Regions from separate parts of the Homo sapiens genome. Here region 2 is linked to region 1. The links are contacts of gene promoters, found by promoter capture Hi-C in human tissues and cell types (Jung and others, 2019). All regions are on one chromosome and are shown on one strand. The core of a region is centred on a gene start or on the middle of the fragment in contact, and the rest is flanking DNA. Distances in the headings are between cores, read along the strand shown. Region 1 holds the start of SYN1 (synapsin I). Region 2 holds the start of PRICKLE3 (prickle planar cell polarity protein 3).

Region 1 (6,894 bases), core at 3,201-5,700:
CTTGCAAAGACCCTGAGGAAGAGGAACTCTAACACTTCTCTCCTCCACTCTGAGCCCCCTGACCTTCCAAACCTCAATAAACTAGCCTCTTCGAGTTCGTCTACGATTCCTTAAAGGAGGAAAAACAACCTATCCCCTTCCCCAAAAGTAGGGTGATAGCATCTCATAGGGCAAACAGCACAGCACGGGCCAAGACACAGCAGCCTGTTGCGGAAAACAGTATTTTCCACTGTGGTCGCAGGTTGGCAGGAGTGAAAGCGAGTGTGCAGTCCCAGCCTCTCCCCGCCGCTGCCATAACCCCAATGTCTGGGCCCTGCGCAGCCCCCTTAGAGCCTCAGGGCCGCCCGGCACGTTCCTCTGCAGAGCTCCGCGTTACGGGTTTCCTGATTGGCTACTTGTCCTGGCAGGCACTTCTTGATTGGCCGGCGTGCTTGTTCGTTGTCTCCCCGTCTCCTGGACCTCCCTAGATTCCCACCAGCCGGAACCCTGGAGGAGCCTCTGCCGGCCGACTCCGACTCCGCGTCAGTCGAGGATGAACGGCAGAGGCGTGGCCGAGGCTGGCACCCTGCCGCCCGAGCACCTGCACCCACCCACTCCCGACAGCCCAGCTCCAATGCCACAATTACCAGCGACAAATAGCTCGGCGAGGCGGGGGGCGGGCCGAGGAAGTGCCTGTGTTGCGCTCTGAGCTGAGGAGGGGCAAAGAAGCTAGAGTCAGTATCCGCCCGGAGGAGCCCCCAAGACAAATCCAGACACTTTCCTCTGGTAATTTGTTCATTCATTCAACACTTATTAGCGCCTGCTGTATGCTAAAGCTGAGTCTGAGCATCTAGGGTGGAGGAGGGCTGGTAGAAAGAGGACATCTGAGTGAGGGAACAGACTCAGAAGGTATTCCTTTCGTGTGAACATCTATTCAACACTTAACGCCTACTGTATACTAACAATAGTGCTGGACATCACGGAGAATAGAGAAGAAGAGGAATCAGAGCGTTACGTGTCTCCGCAGTAAAGGGAACAAAGCCAGACACCAGTGCTTTTAGCATTTGCTCATTCATTTACCACTTACTGAATGCCGGGCCCCTTGTGAAGAGACGCATCATAAGAATCATAATAATCATGGTAATAGCTACTACTTAGAAAGTACTTACTGTGTGCTTAGTAGTGTCTTAAGGCTTTCCATAGCATGAACTCATTTCGTCCACAGCAAACCCATGTGGGTAAGTATTATTATCCCCATTTTACAAAGGAAACACGCACAGAAAGGTAGTAGGCTGGACATTTTTGAAGCATCATGGATTGTGATGAGGTCTTAAATGTCAAGAGTGCTGTGGGTGGAGGGGACCCGTCTGTGTGGGAAGGTTCGGGTAGGAGGTTTGTGACATGCACACCCAGAGTATATTGGTACACTTACTTGACTTCTCTGGTTCGTTTTCCCCTTATTCAAGTGGACCAGTCAATGAGTTGAAGTGAAGATGAAGTTGATGAGTACTTACTTGGTCATCTTGGGAAGACTGAGCCAAAGTGAGGGGTTCTGGTTGCTACTACAGGGTATGAGAGAGGTATACGTTTACAAGAAAGTGGGAATTCAGCTGTGTGTGTGTGAGAGAGAGATGCAGACCTTTGGGCCTGTGCAAGAATTAAGGATGTATTGATATGTGGCATGTGTGTGAGGTTACAAATGTATGTATGCCATAACAATGCAGGAGTCCCGTGTGTGCACATACACATTAAGGTGCCATGGACATGTATGTGTGAGTCACAAACATGGGTACAATACTGAATGTGAACATATGTCAGGGGTGTGTGTTTGAGAGTCGTTGCTCACCAATGTACAGCAAAATCATTATTGGGGCCCCTTTTGTACGCCTATTCCTGCTGAACAAGATGGAGACAGTTTGGGGGAGCCTAACCTTTGCCTTAGTGAATTGAGGCACTCCTGAGGTGAATCCTCATTCCTCTACAAAACAATCTACAAAAAATTAATTTCTGGAAATTGAGCCACGTGGAAAAATGAAATGGTGCTGGGGCCACAAGTACTAGGAACCTAGGAATGGGGACCCCAGGAAGAGGCGCAGCCTGGAGATAGATTCCCGAGGAACCTGAATTCAGACCTAAAGGAGTCAGAAAGATCTGTAGACCTGCAGCTGTTCCTGTCCCCAAAGAGGGCACCGCGCCCTGCACAGCTTGTTTGCTTCCGTTACTGGGCAAAAAACCAGGGAGCACATACTTCAAGACATTGGAAAATATCTGATTTGCGGGGAGATCCCCATCTGGGTAACACTAGGATTTGGAATGCCAGAGAAGGAATCCTGAAGGGAGGAGAAAAGAGTGGCCAAATCAAAGGCCTGGAGGTGGGACTGAAGCTGGCTGGGTTGGAGGAGGGAGTAGAGGATGGTTTGGGAAGTGTTTGACTTGGGTACTGTGGAAGCCTAGGGGAGGAGGGGATAGAATCTGAGACCTGGGGGTGAGGGGTTCCTGCAGACAGTGGCCAAAGGCAGCCCTCGAGAGAGAAGGAGAGGACATTCCTGGCAGAAGTTACAACACATGCAAAGGTACAGAGGTTGCCCCCTTCCTACCCCTCTCCTTAGAGGTGGGTTAGAGATGTATCCTTTTTACAGATGAGGAAACCAAATCTCAGAAAGATTAAGTCACTTTCCCAAGTGTATGGTGGAGGCCCCACTTGAACCCAGGCACTGTGTCTCCAGACCCCACACTATTACTGCCTTGTTTAAACCAGCCAATGATTTAATGAATAAAGGATGAACAAATGAATAAGTGGATGAGTCACCTGAAAATTCTGCAGGCAAAAGAGACTCCATATCTACTTACTTCTTGCCTATCTTCTGCCACCTCTCCTAGTCCACCATCACTGCTCACTATGGTCAAGGTCCTACCCAATCTGGCCCCTGCTACCACAACCCCCTTCAGCTTGTTCCAGCCACATTGGCACTGGATGTTTCCTCTTCCTGGCACATTCTTAAAAAAATGTGTTGATCATAAAGTGAACATGACCCTTTGGGAATTAACTGGAGTTCTTGTATTCCCTCATCTGTAAAATAGACATTATATTATCCACCCCACTGGATTGTTGTGAGGGTTGGATGAAATGATGCATGTAAACAGCTTAGTTAAGAGTTGGGTACAATCAGTGAACAAATGATTATGAATTAGTGCTTTTATTGTAGTCAGAATCATAAAGATTTGACAGGTTCCCATATCCCACCTCTGCTTGGACTACCTCATTTGCTCATATGCAAACATTATTTGGTACCTACTGTGTGTGCACCATGGGATGGGCCTGCCTCTGTGGAAAGTTCTTGGGTGCAGGGGGAGACAGCCATGGGCACTGATGACATCAGGTAGTTATCGTGAGTTTTGGCGGTGTCCAGAGCAAAGGGATGGTGGCGTATATACCAAGTGTGTTCTGGTGTGGGGGTGGACACGCACCAGGGCTAGGGCTGCAGAGAATGTCTGTGTTGCAGATCTAGGTTTCTCCATGATCATCGGTGGGAATGTGTTTTGTCTGCAAGTGTATGCTCATATGAGTTTCCCTGGGTCTCTGTGTGTCAGTGTGTTACCTGTGTGTGTGGGGGTATGGGTGTATGCATGCATGTATGTAACATGCCCATGTGTGTTACTCTGGACTTGTATGTCTGTATGTATACCTAGATTGGCGTGTGTTCTGTCTGTACATGCCCTCGTATGTTTCCTCACTTTTGTGTGTGTTTATATGTGTGTCATTTCTTGTGTGCCTCCAGGCCCCCCTTGCCACCTTGGGCAAGGGTGTGTACACCACCCAAGTGTCCACCTCCGCTTGTCTGATGCTGTCTGTGACGCCCCCGCTCTCTGCCTAGCTGAGCCTGTGTGGATGTGGGAGACTAATCTCCCCGCGGGCACTGCGTGTGACCTCACCCCCCTCTGTGAGGGGGTTATTTCTCTACTTTCGTGTCTCTGAGTGTGCTTCCAGTGCCCCCCTCCCCCCAAAAAATGCCTTCTGAGTTGAATATCAACACTACAAACCGAGTATCTGCAGAGGGCCCTGCGTATGAGTGCAAGTGGGTTTTAGGACCAGGATGAGGCGGGGTGGGGGTGCCTACCTGACGACCGACCCCGACCCACTGGACAAGCACCCAACCCCCATTCCCCAAATTGCGCATCCCCTATCAGAGAGGGGGAGGGGAAACAGGATGCGGCGAGGCGCGTGCGCACTGCCAGCTTCAGCACCGCGGACAGTGCCTTCGCCCCCGCCTGGCGGCGCGCGCCACCGCCGCCTCAGCACTGAAGGCGCGCTGACGTCACTCGCCGGTCCCCCGCAAACTCCCCTTCCCGGCCACCTTGGTCGCGTCCGCGCCGCCGCCGGCCCAGCCGGACCGCACCACGCGAGGCGCGAGATAGGGGGGCACGGGCGCGACCATCTGCGCTGCGGCGCCGGCGACTCAGCGCTGCCTCAGTCTGCGGTGGGCAGCGGAGGAGTCGTGTCGTGCCTGAGAGCGCAGCTGTGCTCCTGGGCACCGCGCAGTCCGCCCCCGCGGCTCCTGGCCAGACCACCCCTAGGACCCCCTGCCCCAAGTCGCAGCCATGAACTACCTGCGGCGCCGCCTGTCGGACAGCAACTTTATGGCCAATCTGCCAAATGGGTACATGACAGACCTGCAGCGTCCGCAGCCGCCCCCACCGCCGCCCGGTGCCCACAGCCCCGGAGCCACGCCCGGTCCCGGGACCGCCACTGCCGAGAGGTCCTCCGGGGTCGCCCCAGCGGCCTCTCCGGCCGCCCCTAGCCCCGGGTCCTCGGGGGGCGGTGGCTTCTTCTCGTCGCTGTCCAACGCGGTCAAGCAGACCACGGCGGCGGCAGCTGCCACCTTCAGCGAGCAGGTGGGCGGCGGCTCTGGGGGCGCAGGCCGCGGGGGAGCCGCCTCCAGGGTGCTGCTGGTCATCGACGAGCCGCACACCGACTGGTAAGCCACTGCCGCGGACGTCTCCCGTGGGCCTGGGTCCCCAGATCGTTCTTCTGCGAATGAGCAATTATCGAGCGCCGCTTGTGTGCCTGACACCTGGCCCTCTCACCTAAATCTTTTTCCTTTAAATTATTAAGCTGGATGCTTCCTCTGTGCCCCGCCCTTGTCGCCCCCCTCCGCCCCTTAAACCTTGATGGATCCAGGGAGCAATTATCAGGCACCTGCTGCGTACCTGTTCCCTACTACCCCTCCCCCAAAAGTCTTTGGCTTCAATATATCCTATGAGCCTTCGAAAACCGAACGTGTCCTTCCTACCCTCCCCAACCCTTGCCCCATAGGCCTTGTCCTCTAATGGATCTTGTGAGCACTTATCTAGTACCTGCAGTATGCCTCATCCAAGAGCCCTTCCCCAAGGCCTTTGATTTCAATGAGGTTTGTGAGCATTCTTTGAGAGCCTGATACTGTCCTGTTCTCCTCAACCCTTGCCCTGAGGCCTTCTCTAATGGGTCTTGTGAGCATGTGTCCAGTCTATGCTATGTGTCCCACCCCAGCTCCGTCCTTAAAGCCCTTTTAAACTATTTAGTAAACATTGAGTACCTGCTGTGTATCCCACCCCAGCTTCTCTCCAAAAGCTTTGCCTTTCATGGATCCTGTGAGTTTTGATTGGATGCCTTCTCTGTGCCCCAACTCCAAGCCCTCTCTCTGAGGGCCTTTTCTCCAAAGGATCTAGGAAGCATTTGTTAAGTGCCTGATACGTGCCGCACCCCCAAACCCCTTCTCAAACAAATCATTTTCCTCCAGTGAGTTCCATGAGCAGTTTTGAACCTTCTTTGTGTGACTCATCTTCAGACCGTCTCCTCAAAGACCTTTCCCTACAGTGGATCTAGAAAACATTTATTGAGTGCCTCTTGTATCCCCCGTTCTCCAGCTACTTCTTCAAAGACCTTTCCTTTGGTGGATCCATCTAGCATTTATCAACTGCCTGCAGTGTGAGCCTTCTCTAAAAGTTCTTTCCTCCAGTGTATTCAGCAAGCATGCATTGACTGGTGCCTGCTGTATACCCCACCCTCAAACCCTTTCTGCAATACCCTTTCCTCCAGTGGCTTCAGTCTGCATGTATTGAGCACTTTCTGCATGACCCAACCTTAGACCTCTCCATAAAGGCCTGTGCCTCCAGTTAATACAGTGCTCAGATATCTGGCACTTGCTGTGTGTACCATTCCAGTCACTCTTTCCAAAGACCTTTTCTTTTAATCACTCCTTGGAGTATTTATGGAGCACCTGCTGTGTACCTGATTGTGTGCCTTCTTCACAAAAGCCTTTTCTCCTATGGATGAAGAATCGAGCTCCCATAGATCAACTTTCTGCACTCCCATTTCCCCTCCCCATAGGACTTTTCCTTCAGGGATGCAGTGAGCCTTGATCAGGTGACTATATGTCCATCCCCAGCCCCACTCCCCAAAGGCCTTTTCTTCTAATGGATCCAGTGAGCATTTATTCCTTGTCTGTCATGTGCTCCATTTTAATCATCCTCCCCCAAAGACCTTTTCTTCCAATGGCTCCCCTGAGCATTTATGGAGTGTCTTCTGTGTGTTCTGTATATTCACACCTCCTCCCCAGAATTGTTTTCTTAACAGTAGATCCAGTGAGCACATATGCAGGACCTGTTGTTTTGGGGAGTACATTCTTCTTCCTTACCCCTAGGAGAGCCTGTTCCAATCACAAGGCCTCTCCCAAGGTCCTTTCCTGTGATAAATCCAGAGCTGAGTTTATAATGATCACCCCTTTCCCACTCCCTTCAGTACCCCTAGGATTCCCTCTACCAACTTTAATTCATACCCCCAAAGGGCTTTTAGTCTATTTAAGTAACACTTACTTAAGTAAACACTTTTACTTAATAGTTTTACTATTGACTTAATTTACTAAATAAATTTAGTAA
Region 2 (2,723 bases), core at 224-2,723, 1.6 Mb before region 1:
TCCTCTCCCAAATAAACTCCTTAACCACCTAGTCTACCCGGCTCTGATTTCTCAGTGTGTCTTTTTCGGGCGCCGGGGAGGAGGTTGGCCGGGGGAGAAAGGAGGGAGAGGTGGTGAGAACAAGCTCCACCCGGACCCACCGACCGCAGTTCAGCTTGCTGCACCATTTCAGGCCCCTTCAAAAGTGTTAGGCAGAGCAGCATCCTCTGGGAAGCCTCTCCTGCCAATCACTCTGTCACTCTCTGAGTAGCCCTGCTCACCCTCCCACTACTGGCCACCAAATGCCCGGTCTTTCTAGGAGTTGGTTCTAATTCTGGTCCCTTAGCCAAGCCTCTTCCGAGCCCCTGTGGAACCCTCTCCTCAAATCCCCAAGGGGTCCGAATAGGAGGAAACCTCACATTGCCTGACCCCATCCCTAATCTTCAGACCCTACTGTCTCTCCTTTCCCTGCCTCCGCCCAGGCTGGAGAAATGGGAGACAGGTTAGGCAAGGAGGGGAGGTGGGGCGCCGGGGTGACTCCTTAGTTCATTAGTTATTCTCTTTTACCTCTCCACTCCACGGGAAGTGACAGGGACATGTGTAATGGGGGGCGGGGAGAGGTCCCCGGGGCCCGCGATGAAGGGCCTGGCCGCTGCAGTCTCCGTGCATAGAGACCCGGGCCGAGTTCTGACTGAGGCCATGGGACCCCCTCCCCCCAGCCCGGAGGCACAGCCAAGCCTGAGAGCGTGAAGGAGAGGCTCCCCGCCCTGGAACTGAGCTGGGGAAGGGGATAACTGGAGAGAGAAAAATGTGGGTGGGGGAGGGAAGGCTTTAAGATCTACTTCTCAAGACTTGGGGTGGGGGGACGGGGCTGGACAGCTAGGCTTATAAGGATGAGGGGAGAGAGGGGACGAGGGCTTTGGAACCTGGCCTCGCTGAGAGGGGAATGAGAAGGGAGGAGTGCGTATAAGATCTAGCTCTCTGGTGGCTAGGGCCAGGTTCCCAGGTTCCCAGCGAGCACCAGCTGGGGCTGCGGGTGAGGTTGGGGCCCATTGTTGCAGCATTCATCGGGGAGACCCTCGGAACCTCACCAGTGGGGAGGAGCCAAGAGGTGTCTTTAACCCCTCTCCCAAATAAGCATCCGAAATAAATCGACACAAAACGTCAACACAAGCACCCTAGCGCGCCACCCCTCTCAGTCCAGTTGGCCACCTCTGAGTCTCCCCATCCTCCACTACAGAACCTTCAAGCCCCAGGTCCCGTGAGAGGCCACGTGGCACGCCGGGATTCTGGGGGTCGTGCCTTGTGACGCCCCGCACCGGCCCGGAGCGGGAGGGCAGAGGCCTTTCCCGCGGGGCACTCCGGGCTACGTGCAGTTCACCTCTAGGCAGGGGGCGCCCTGGCAGCGGAGAGACCACATGCCCGGGGGCGGGCCCTGCGGGGCGCGCTCCTCCCACGAGGGTGTCAGGTTTACGGAACCGAGTTCCCAGGCCGGACGCGCGGTGGCCTGACGGTCGCAAGGATTACATTCGCCTGACCCGGCCCGGCTTGACCCTGCCCGGGCGCGCCATGTTCGCGCGTGGGTCCCGGAGGCGCCGCTCCGGGCGTGCGGTGAGCGGGAGTCAGGGCAGCGGTGGGGGTCGGGGGTAAACTGAGGCCCAGGCAAGGGGGCAATGGATAGGCATAGCGAATAGGTGCCCCACAGAGGATCTGGGAATCCCATCCCCTGCATTCCCAGACCTGGGGCTGGGGCTGCTGGAGGCGAATGGATGGAGGAAGGTGTAGATCTGGTGGCCCAAACCCCCTAATCACCTCTCCACACACTTTCATCAGCACTCCTGGGACCTGGTGGGGACCCCTCTCTTATGAATTGTGGGAGGGAATCCTGAGGGCCAGAGAACTGGGTCTTGAAGCCTTAGGTTGAGCAGGAACCTCCTGAGCTGCTGCTTTTTTTTTTTTTTTTTTTTTTTGAGACTGAATCTCTGTCACCCAGGCTGGAGTGCAGTGGCGCTATCTCCGCTCACTGCAACCTCCGCCTCCTGGGTTCAAGCGATTCTCCTGCTTCAGCCTCCCATGTACCTGGGATTACAGACGCCCGCCACCGCGCCCGCCTAATTTTTGTATTTTTAGTAGAGACAAGGTTTCACCATGTTGGCCAGGCTGGTCTCGAACTCCTGACCTCAGGTGATCCGCCCACCTCGGCCTCCCAAAGTGCTGGGATTATAGGCGTGAGCCACCGAGCCTGGCCGACCTCCTCAGCTTCTAAAGGACACAGTACCTTGGAGGAATGTGCACGGAGGGATGGAGTCCTACACTCCTGGGATGCCGAAATGCTGAGAGTCAAGAGACTGGGATTTGGGGGGACAAGGCTTCCAGGGTTCCGCCTGAGCAAGGGAGTTTTTGACTTCTTAGATAGGAGGTTCTTTCACTTCCTTTGGAGTGGGTCTCTGACCTGGGAATGTGGGGTCTGGGTTTGATGGTCCGGAGAAGGAATAAATAGCCCTAGGATGGGATGGGTAAAGGCCAAGGTTTCTTGGGATGGGGGTTTCTGAATGGAGCAGGGGCCTCCTGAGATCCTGGGGAGGGTCCCCAGTTCCTTGGGTATCAGGGCATGAGGCCAGGGTTTAGGGGAGGAGCTCCTGAGCTTCTGAAGAGAGGGGCAGGGTTCACGTGGGGATCTCAAGGAAGAATGCGGTCTCGTCTCCTACCCTGTGGAACTGGAGTGCTGCTGGCGGCGTAGATGG

Evidence for each region. The method cuts DNA at HindIII sites, captures the fragments that hold promoters and counts their contacts. A contact is called where the count stands out against the background at its distance.
Region 2: a contact is called between the fragment with the promoter of PRICKLE3 here and the fragment with the promoter of SYN1 in region 1, in 1 of the 25 tissues and cell types used here (lymphoblastoid cells).

Annotation. Positions count from the first base shown.
Region 1 is chrX:47,617,413-47,624,306 of GRCh38, reverse strand. It overlaps SYN1 (synapsin I), which reads left to right and starts at 4,450. Exons shown (of 13, transcript NM_006950.3): 1 at 4,450-4,955. The coding sequence starts at 4,579. It overlaps CFP (complement factor properdin), which reads left to right. Exons shown (of 9, transcript NM_001145252.3): 9 at 1-1,025. The coding sequence ends at 32. RefSeq lists silencers at 4,227-4,436, 4,143-4,437. The HindIII fragment of the contact is 13,946 bases long and covers 1-6,894 here.
Region 2 is chrX:49,185,123-49,187,845 of GRCh38, reverse strand. It overlaps PRICKLE3 (prickle planar cell polarity protein 3), which reads left to right and starts at 1,473. Exons shown (of 9, transcript NM_006150.5): 1 at 1,473-1,590. The coding sequence starts at 1,549. SYP (synaptophysin) reads left to right here. Exons shown (of 7, transcript NM_003179.3): 7 at 1-31. RefSeq lists a silencer at 1,351-1,480 and a cis regulatory region at 1,174-1,714. The HindIII fragment of the contact is 10,179 bases long and covers 1,333-2,723 here.